Linked DNA regions of Homo sapiens: regions 2 and 3 are each linked to region 1. The links are contacts of gene promoters, found by promoter capture Hi-C in human tissues and cell types (Jung and others, 2019). All regions are on one chromosome and are shown on one strand. The core of a region is centred on a gene start or on the middle of the fragment in contact, and the rest is flanking DNA. Distances in the headings are between cores, read along the strand shown.

What was found. Contacts are between HindIII fragments. The study calls those that stand out against the background at their distance.
Region 2: a contact is called between a fragment that was not itself captured here and the fragment with the promoter of ERVV-1 in region 1, in 1 of the 25 tissues and cell types used here (psoas muscle).
Region 3: a contact is called between a fragment that was not itself captured here and the fragment with the promoter of ERVV-1 in region 1, in 6 of the 25 tissues and cell types used here (H1 embryonic stem cells, mesenchymal stem cells, mesendoderm cells and 3 more).

The regions. Positions count from the first base shown.
Region 1 is chr19:53,012,610-53,015,309 of GRCh38, reverse strand. It overlaps ERVV-1 (endogenous retrovirus group V member 1, envelope), which reads right to left and starts at 1,389. Exons shown (of 1, transcript NM_152473.3): 1 at 1-1,389. The coding sequence starts at 1,219. The region is part of intron 1 of LOC124904758 (a long non-coding RNA gene); the gene reads left to right. The HindIII fragment of the contact is 3,820 bases long and covers 381-2,700 here.
Region 2 is chr19:53,054,611-53,057,595 of GRCh38, reverse strand. It overlaps LOC124904762 (a long non-coding RNA gene), which reads left to right. Exons shown (of 2, transcript XR_007067330.1): 2 at 11-198. Among named protein-coding and RNA genes, the nearest start is that of ERVV-2, 11 kb to the right of the region's middle. The HindIII fragment of the contact is 3,275 bases long and covers 1-2,985 here.
Region 3 is chr19:53,072,755-53,075,809 of GRCh38, reverse strand. ZNF160 (zinc finger protein 160) reads left to right here. Exons shown (of 6, transcript NM_001322131.2): 4 at 627-753; 5 at 1,542-1,670. Among named protein-coding and RNA genes, the nearest start is that of ZNF160, 29 kb to the left of the region's middle. The HindIII fragment of the contact is 9,128 bases long and covers 1-3,055 here.

The DNA of each region.
Region 1 (2,700 bases), core at 140-2,639:
AACAGGATTTACTGATCACTGCACAGACTCCACCCTGCTCTGCTAAGAGGTAATCTAAGGCCAATCTGTTGTTCATGACTACATTTGCTAGAGAATCTATGGAGGCCTTGAGTTTAGAGATGCTATCTCTGGTACTCTTAGCTATGTTGTCTATTTGTCTGGAGAGATTTCTGAGGGTGACATCATGATAAGTGAACCCTCCCCATGGGGCGATCATTCCTATGGCCGCACCCATCCCTGCCAGTATTAGACCCAGAGCTCTTTTCTGTCTGGGTTGGGTGGTGTTATAAATGGTCACACCTATCCCCCGTGGTCCCAAAAGTCCCACAGCACATTCTCCCGTATGTTGGATGTTATTAATGCAAGTGTAGAGGTTTGCCACAGGGGGGGTTGAATAAGTTATCTTAGGACTTCCATCAAAGGGCAGTTTATTTTTTTGTGGCCCACATAAAAATACATAGCCAGGAGGGGTACAGGCCCACCGGGGGATGTGGCTGTCGAACCACTTGTGTAACTGCGATTTCCACCCTGCTGGAATAGTTTGATTGCATGCAGGGGATAGAGGCCCTCCCAGGGGAACAGTAGATTTTGGCCATGTGGGGACAGTGTGTGCCTTGGGAAGCAAATATAGAACCCTCCATGTGATTAGCTCTTTTCCTTCCCAAGCTGCACAGCGGTTTTGGGGTGACTTGTCTCGATAATCGTTCATTTGTTTAGCTGGACACCAGTGAGTCAAGTTAGGGTGGCAGCCTGCTGGGGAGAAGCTCATGGGATGGATGGTGGGACTGGGGAATCCCTCCTCAGAGGTGTTCTTCCTGTCACAGTGTCCTTCAGGGCATGGACAACAGGTTTGGTTTAGAGAAGAGCAGTTGTAGAAATAGAAAGAAGTTTTAGAGCTTTGATTGAAAGGTGGAGTGAGATCCAGGCAGGGGACTTGGTGCGCTGAGTTAGCAAGCGAAACCTGGAGCGGAACAGATTTATGTTGGCCTTCAGGGATTCCTGAACCAAATGTTAGGTTTAAAGAAAAATTTCTTACCAAAATATATTGGTAAGATGAGGACCTGGTGATGAAGTTGTGGCAGATCCAACAGTTGCTTAGATGGTTTCCCGAAGCAATTATTTTGGAAAAACTGACAAGGGAATTTTCATTCCACTGTGCCTGTGAGAGTAGGGGCATGGGAAGGAGGGAAAGATAAAGGAAAAGGAATTTCTCTGTCATAGCTGATTCTCCCTTAAGCTTTGTGAAAGCAAAAGGAAAGTGCTGAAAATAGGAGAGACAAATAATGAAATGGTTCGATGGAGTGTTTAGTGAGAAATCAGGCTGTTATCGGGACTTCAGGTGGCATGCCAGTGTGGGTCAAAATAAGGAGAAGAACCGATGCCACCGCAACCAAGATTCCCCGTACTGAGAGACCTTTTTTTGAGGTGAAAGGAGAGAAGGCTTTACTTATCTTTTCACTTGAAGAGGAATTGGAAGCTCTCCAGTGGCTGGCTCATGAGACTACTCAGATGCTGATTCTGTTGTTGGTTCTTCGGGACCTTCTCACAGTTTTACTCAGGAGTGATGTATCCAACTAGAGATTCCAGAAACTTTGATAGCTGTCGGGGTAGAAAGTAATAAAGGGGCCTTTCCATAAAGGAGAGACCCAGGCTAGTTGAGACCTGGGTGACCCATCTCTCCAGGTTTTGATGAGGACTTGTGACCCTGGCTAGTATAAGGGTTGATTACTGGAGGGGTCAGTGGCAGGCAGTACCTTTTGCTCAAACTCCTGGATGGCTTGTTGAAATTGGGCCAGTGATGTTATGTATTTGATTAATTGGGTAACTTCTGGATCTAACATTAGGTCTGCATGTAGGAAGGCATAAGTAATATTAGGGGTCATGCTCAGAACAGTGCTACGGACAGGAGTTCTAACCATGGTGAGGAGGTTTCCTGGCACACTTTGTTCAGGGTCCTTTTAATAGTTTGATTAGTGCTTTCTACCTTGCCAGAGGAATGTGTTCTCCAGGAGTGCTAGGAGTACTTTATTTCTAGGGCTTTTGTCACTAATTAAAGGGTGCGTGAAATAAAAACTGGGCCGTTGTCACTTTGTAAACACAAACTAAACCCACACTGAGGGGTGATTTTTTTTTTCTTTTTGTTTTTGAGACGGAGTCTCGCTCTGTTGTCCAGGCTGGAGTGCAGTGGCACAATCTCAGCTCACCACAAGCTCCACCTCCCGGGTTCACACCATTCTTCTGCCTCAGCCTCCTGAGTAGCTGGGACTATAGGCGCCCGCTACCACACCCACCTAATTTTTTCTCTTTTTTAGTAGAGACAGGATTTCACTGTGTTAGCCAGGATGGTCTCAATTCTCTGACCTCGTGATCCGCCTGCCTCGGCCTCCCAAAGTGCTGAGATTACAGAAGTGAGCCACCACGCCCGGCCGGGATGATTTTTTTTTTTTTTTTAAGAAGTACCTTGGCTACTTCCTGGGCCTTTTCTGTTCTTGTAGGAAAGGCTTTAACCCACCCAATAAAGGTGTCCACAAACACCAGAAGGCATTTATAGCCTCTACAGGCTGGCAATTGAGTGAAATACATCCATCAGTCTTTCCCTGGGTAAGCTTCCCAATGCTGAACTGGCTCAACTAAGCAGGACAGGGAGCTGCATTGGCTCTGGCCGGTTGTCCTGGGTCACAAGGAGGCAAGGCTACGCGT
Region 2 (2,985 bases), core at 112-2,611, 42 kb before region 1:
TAAAAATTAGCCGGATGTGGTGCTGCACGCCTGTAATCTCAGCTACTCTGAGGGTGAGGCAGGCAAATCGCTTGATCCCGAGAGAGGGAGGTTGCAGTCATCGGAGATCGCGCCACTGCACTCCAGCCTGGGCGAGAGAGCAAGACTCCACGTCAAAAATGTTTTTAATTAAAAAAAATAAAAATGTATTTCTCTTAATTTTCTTCTTGCCTCCCTGATCACTTTACACTTTTCTCTTCTAGTATGTCTTGAGCTCTGTTTTCTGAATGTGGAGTGACCCTCAGCTTACCCCTCGGACTTCTGATCTCTGCCCACACCCACTGCCCTTATCATCTCATCTCATGGCTTTAAACCCACCTACACGGCTCCATGTTCCCTGCAGACCTCTCCCCTGAACACTGGAATCCTGTGTCCAATTGTCTCTTCAACTCTCCTCTGGGAGTCCAGCAGGCATCTGGGGCATTTTGCAGGCACACCTCTGGTGCCCCCTTACCTGAAGTTTTCATTCAAATACATTGGGACGTGTCCTTAATAATATTTAAAGGTGATTCCATGGGTGTCCAGCATTGAGCACCCAGGCTCCGCCCTTTGTTTCTAAGGGCTGAAATCAGCCTGTGATCCACAGATGGGTGAGGGGGGCTGTGCTCTGCATGGGGTTTGGTCAGGGCTGGGTCTGTGTCCTGAAGAGAAGCTCAGTCCAGCCCAGCTTCCCACGGCTGCAGTGTGTGTGTGGGCTTCTCTGGGAGGGGAGCGGGTTCTGAAGAAATGGGCCCAAAACTCACCTGTTGGTCTTCCTGTAGGAGCCTGTCGTCCCTGTGTTCCATCTGGTGCAATGACTCCCAGAGAACTGGCTTTCCACAGTGAGGGCTTCCCTGAATGGGTGTTTGAGGCACAAAAATGAGGGTGTTGATTCCAGTCATTAAATGGCATATTTTAGACATTCAGGATCGACTTGTAAAGGCTTTTTCATGTTACCCAAGGAAGATGCCTAGAAGAGGAAGAAAAGGAAACAGGGATGGCTCTTACTCAGGTAAAGTAATAGTATCGGTTGATTTTTATTTCTCTTATTTCTGAAATTGTTACAGGTGGTGAATCCCTATCCGTACAGGTCTGCACCAACCTCAATTCTTGCCTCCTCAGAAGAAAAAATTCAACTGAGGGGCATAGGGCAGAAGGAGAGACTGAGGCAAGTTTTAGAGCAGGAATGAAAGCAAAAGTTTATTAAAAAGTTTTAGAGCAGGGCCGGGCGCGGTGTCTCATGCCTATAATCCTAGCACTTTGGGAGGCCAAGGCGGCAGATCATGTGAGGTCGAGAGTCCGAGACCAGCCTGACCTGAGGCGGCAGATCACTTGAGGTCTCGAGTTCGAGATCAGCCTGACCTGAGGCTGAGACAGAAGAATCGCTTGAACGTGGGAGGCGGAGGTTGTAGTGAGCCGAGATGGCGCCATTTCACTCCAGCCTAGGCAACAAGAGCAAAACTCCGTCTCAAAAATAAATGAATGAATGAATGAATGAATGAATGAATAAAAAGTTTTAGAGCAGAAATGGCCAGGCGCAGTGGCTCACACCTGTAATCTCAATGCTTTGGTAGGCTGAGATGGGCGTATCACTTGAGTCCAGCAGTTCAAAACCAGCCTGGGCAACATGGCAAAACCCCATCTCTACAAAAAAGATAAAAATTAGCCGGGTGTGGTGGTGCATGGCTGTAATCCCAGCTACTTGGGAGGCTGAGGCAGGAGAATCTTTTGAGCCCAGGATGTGGAGGTTGGCAGTGAGCCAAGATGATGTCATCGCACTCCAGCCTGAGTGACACAGCAAGGCCTTGTCTCAAAAAAAAAAAAAAAAAAAAAGAAAAGAAAAGAAAAGAAAAAAAGCTTTAGAGCAGAAATGAAAGGAAGGAAAGTACAGTTGGAAGACGGCCAAGTGCCAAGTGGGTGACTTGAAAGGCAAGTGTGCACTTCGACCTTTTGACTTGGGGTTTTATACATTGGTATACTTCCGGGGTCTTGCTTCCCTGATTCTTCCCTTGGGGTGGGCTGTCCGCATGTGCGTGCTTGAGTCCACTCGCCCAACTCCTGAGATCTCATGGGAAGCAGCAGATCACCAGTTTCAGGTGTTTTCTGTGTGTGAGGAGCCTGCCTTTCCCTGGTGCCAGCTGTGACTATTATTTTACATGTTTAACAACCACCTGACCATCATCTGATAGTTGCCTGACATTCCTGATGTGTGTGTATGGGGAGGGGGAGCCCTCTCCTGCCCTGCCCTGCTCTGCTCATACCAGAGGAGTTACCTACAATAACAAAATGTCATTCTTTGGAGTTGCAAGTCTTTGAGTCTGAAGCATCCTGCCTGACATATTTGCTCACTCACCCATGCGGTCCCTCAGTCCCTCTTATCTCACTTACATTCCATTGCCCGTGACCTAGTGACATGAACTTGGGAAGAAGCTCCACTGGGGCCTGGATTGGAGATGGGGTGTGGGCCCCCTAATATTATGTTGAGGACTTTTTCACCAATATTTTCAGGGATATTGGTCTAAGGTTTTGTTTTCTTGTCGTATATTTGTGTGGGTTGTATGCTGGGCAGCAGGGATTGTTTAGGGGCCACATCTGGATGCATGCCACCTCTTTGCAGAACAGGATTCAAGAAACTGCCCATGAAGTCAAATATTACTGTGCACAAGTTCCTGCTAAATGCTTTAAAATTAGAACACTAAGGGGAAAGCATTCCTGCCTCGTTTATGTTATGTTTGAAACTCTACAAGTGAGTCACTGTGTTTCTGATTCCAAATTCTTTTTTATTTTTATTTTTATTTTTTTGAGACGGAGTCTCGCTCTGTCACCCAGCCTGGAGTGCAGTGGCTCGATCTTGGCTCACTGCAAGCTCCGCCTCCCAGGTTCACGCCATTCTCCTGCCTCAGCCTCCCGAGTAGCTGGGATTACAGGTGCCCGCCACCACGCCTGGCTAATTTTTTGTATTTTTAG
Region 3 (3,055 bases), core at 1-2,500, 61 kb before region 1:
ACCCCCTCCTTGAAATTGATTAGTTTGCTTGAGTGGCTCACATAACACAGGGAAACACTTATATTTACCCATTTATTATAGAAGATGCTACAAAGCACACAGATGAACATCTAGATGGAAGTGATCTATTAGTTGAGATATGGGAAAGGAGTGAGGAGCTGGGATGTATTCTCTCATGTATTCTGTCTTTTTTGAGTTTTCATGGAGGCCCCATTATGGAGGCCTTGCTTCCATTATTGGCATTGGTGATCAACTGAACTTTCATTCCCTCTGTCCTCCCGAGAGGACAGAGGCTTAGTCTAACCGAGCCTCAGCCTTTCCAGTGACCACCCACCGAGCCTTAGTTCCGGTGACCGCCCTCCATCCTGAAGCTACCTAGGTGCTCCAGACACCAATTATCCCATTAATGTACAAAAAGATACTTATCACTCCACTGATTTCAAGTGAGCTCTTATGTCAGGAGAGGGGGATGAAGACCAAATCTGTATGTCACATTGTCACAATCTGGATCTGTCAGCTCACCCACTTCAATTTAACCTATTCTCACATTTTTCTCCTCTTCTCCTTTTATGTGAAATTTTGAACTCTCCCCTTAGCCACTTGGTGAAATGTGTTTTTCATTTTAGGTACGGTTGACATTTAGGGATGTGGCCATAGAATTCTCTCAGGAGGAGTGGAAATGCCTGGACCCTGCTCAGAGGATCTTATACAGGGACGTGATGTTGGAGAACTACTGGAACCTTGTTTCTCTGGGTGAGGATGACTTTCTTCCAGAAGTCAAGATCTGTTCTTGTCTATTGTTGCATTTTCCCTTACGAGTCCCTGGAGAGCCCCTGCATTGCTTGACTGAGATTGAAGTCCTGTTGACTCTGAAATGGAAAGCTTAATCATGGGAAACCTGGACTTTAATCTTCCCCTTTCTCAGATGTTCTGCCTCCTTTGTACTTCATCATTTGAGGTTTCAGAGCTTTTGTATGCATAATACATTGTGTTAGACTTTTGAAATGTCAGATTTCCTGTTTTCTACCTCTCTGCTTTGGATTAAGTTGTTGGTGGAATAGAGCCTTCTATCAGCATGTACCATGTTTCCTGGGTATTCAGAAGGAGGCATTCAGTGGATGATTTTTTTTTTTTTTTTTTGAGGCGGAGTCTCGCTCTGTCGCCCGGGCTGGAGTGCAGTGGCGTGATCTAGGCTCCCTGCAAGCTCTGCCTCCCAGGTTCATGCCATTCTCCTGCCTTAGCCTCCCGAGTAGCTGGGACCACAGGCGCCCGCCACCACACCTGGATAATTTTTTTTTATGTTTTTAGTAGAGACAGGGTTTCACCATGTTAGCCATCATGATCTCCATCTCCTGACCTTGTGATCCACCCACCTCAGCTTCCCAAAATGCTGGGATTACAGGCATGAGCCACCGCGCCTGGCCCAGTGGATGAATTTTTGAAGTTTTCTTAGATCCACATATAATGTCCTCTCATGTAAACATAGGGCTGGGATTCTGGAAAAGCCCCGGCACATTGTGATCCTTTCTTTTTATAAACAGGACTGTGTCATTTTGATATGAATATTATCTCCATGTTGGAGGAAGGGAAAGAGCCCTGGACTGTGAAGAGCTGTGTGAAAATAGCAAGAAAACCAAGAACGCCGGAATGTGTCAAAGGCGTGGTCACAGGTAAGAGCTCAGATGGGCAGAGAGAAGGCCACTCATTAACTAGAGTGTGGGAGGGGGCACAGTAGCTCACGCCTGTAATCTCAACACTTAGGGAGGCCAAGGTGGGCAGATCACTTGAGGTCAGGAGTTCGAGACCAGCCTGACCAACATTGTGAAACCCTATCTCTACTAAAAATACAAAAAAAAATTAGCCGGGCATGGTGGCGTGTGCCTGTAGTCCCAGCTACTCAGGAGGCTGAGGCAAGAGAATTGCTTGAACCCGGGAGGTGGAGGTTGCAGTGAGCCAAGATCATGCCACTGCACTCCAGCCTGGGTGGACAGAACAAAACTCCGTCTCAAAATAAATAAATAAATAAAGTGGGAAACTCTCTGCAGATGAGAGAGTTCTTTGGGAAAATAAGTTGCCTTAGAGATAGAGGCAAAGTCTTTATCATGATGGACAACACCCTGTCATTTGAACTCTATGGTTCCTTCTGAAGAAACTGCTTTCTTTCTTGGTCTCTCCCTCTGTATTTAATTCCATATGGTGCTCAGTTCTTAGTCCATATGGGTCAGAGGGGAAGCCTCCATAGTCCTTAGTCCTGACGTCTAGACCTGTTTATGTTCCACCCCATTTCCTGTGCGTGGAAGACCTGCTCAGGAGATGGAAACATTGGCTGCTGCTCCTTGGCATCTGCTGCCCCAAACCTCATGGAAGAGTCTCCAGCCGTCTCCGCCTGTCGAGGTCCCTCGGCCATTTCTTCCATTCTGCTTTTGCCACTTTCATGGGGGTGTGTGATAAGCGAGTGGGTTCTATCTTCTAAGATTGTTCTCAGCATAACCGTAAAGACACCTAACAAAATCCTTCTGTCATTGATCCTCAGTCTTACATGGGGTGCGTATTCTGTTTTTCCAGGCTTCAGCACAGAAATACAAGTACTGCATGTTGTCACTTACATTTGGAATCTAAACCAATAAAACTAATAGCAGCAAAGAGTAGAATGTGGGTTACCACAGGTTGGGGACTGGAGGGAATAGGGAGATGTTGGTCACTGGGTGAAAACATTAGGAGTAAATGATAGGTTTTTGAGATGACTTATATGGTAATAGGCTTGTTTCCATCAGTCCATATTGTATACCTATAACAGAATATCAGTTTGTTTCCTGTAAATATATATAACTATAATTTGTCAATATAGAATTTTTTTAAAAATCATATTCCAGTTCTTATTGTGTTGGTTCTAAATAAAAATGCTTCTTTCTCTTAAGACAAAACTGTTTATTATTCCACGGACAATAATTTTTTTTTTAAATGAAGTTTCGCTCTTGTTGCCCAGGCTGGAGTGCAATGGTGCGATCTCGGCTCACCGCAACTTCTGCCTCCTGGGTTCGAGAGATTCTCCTGT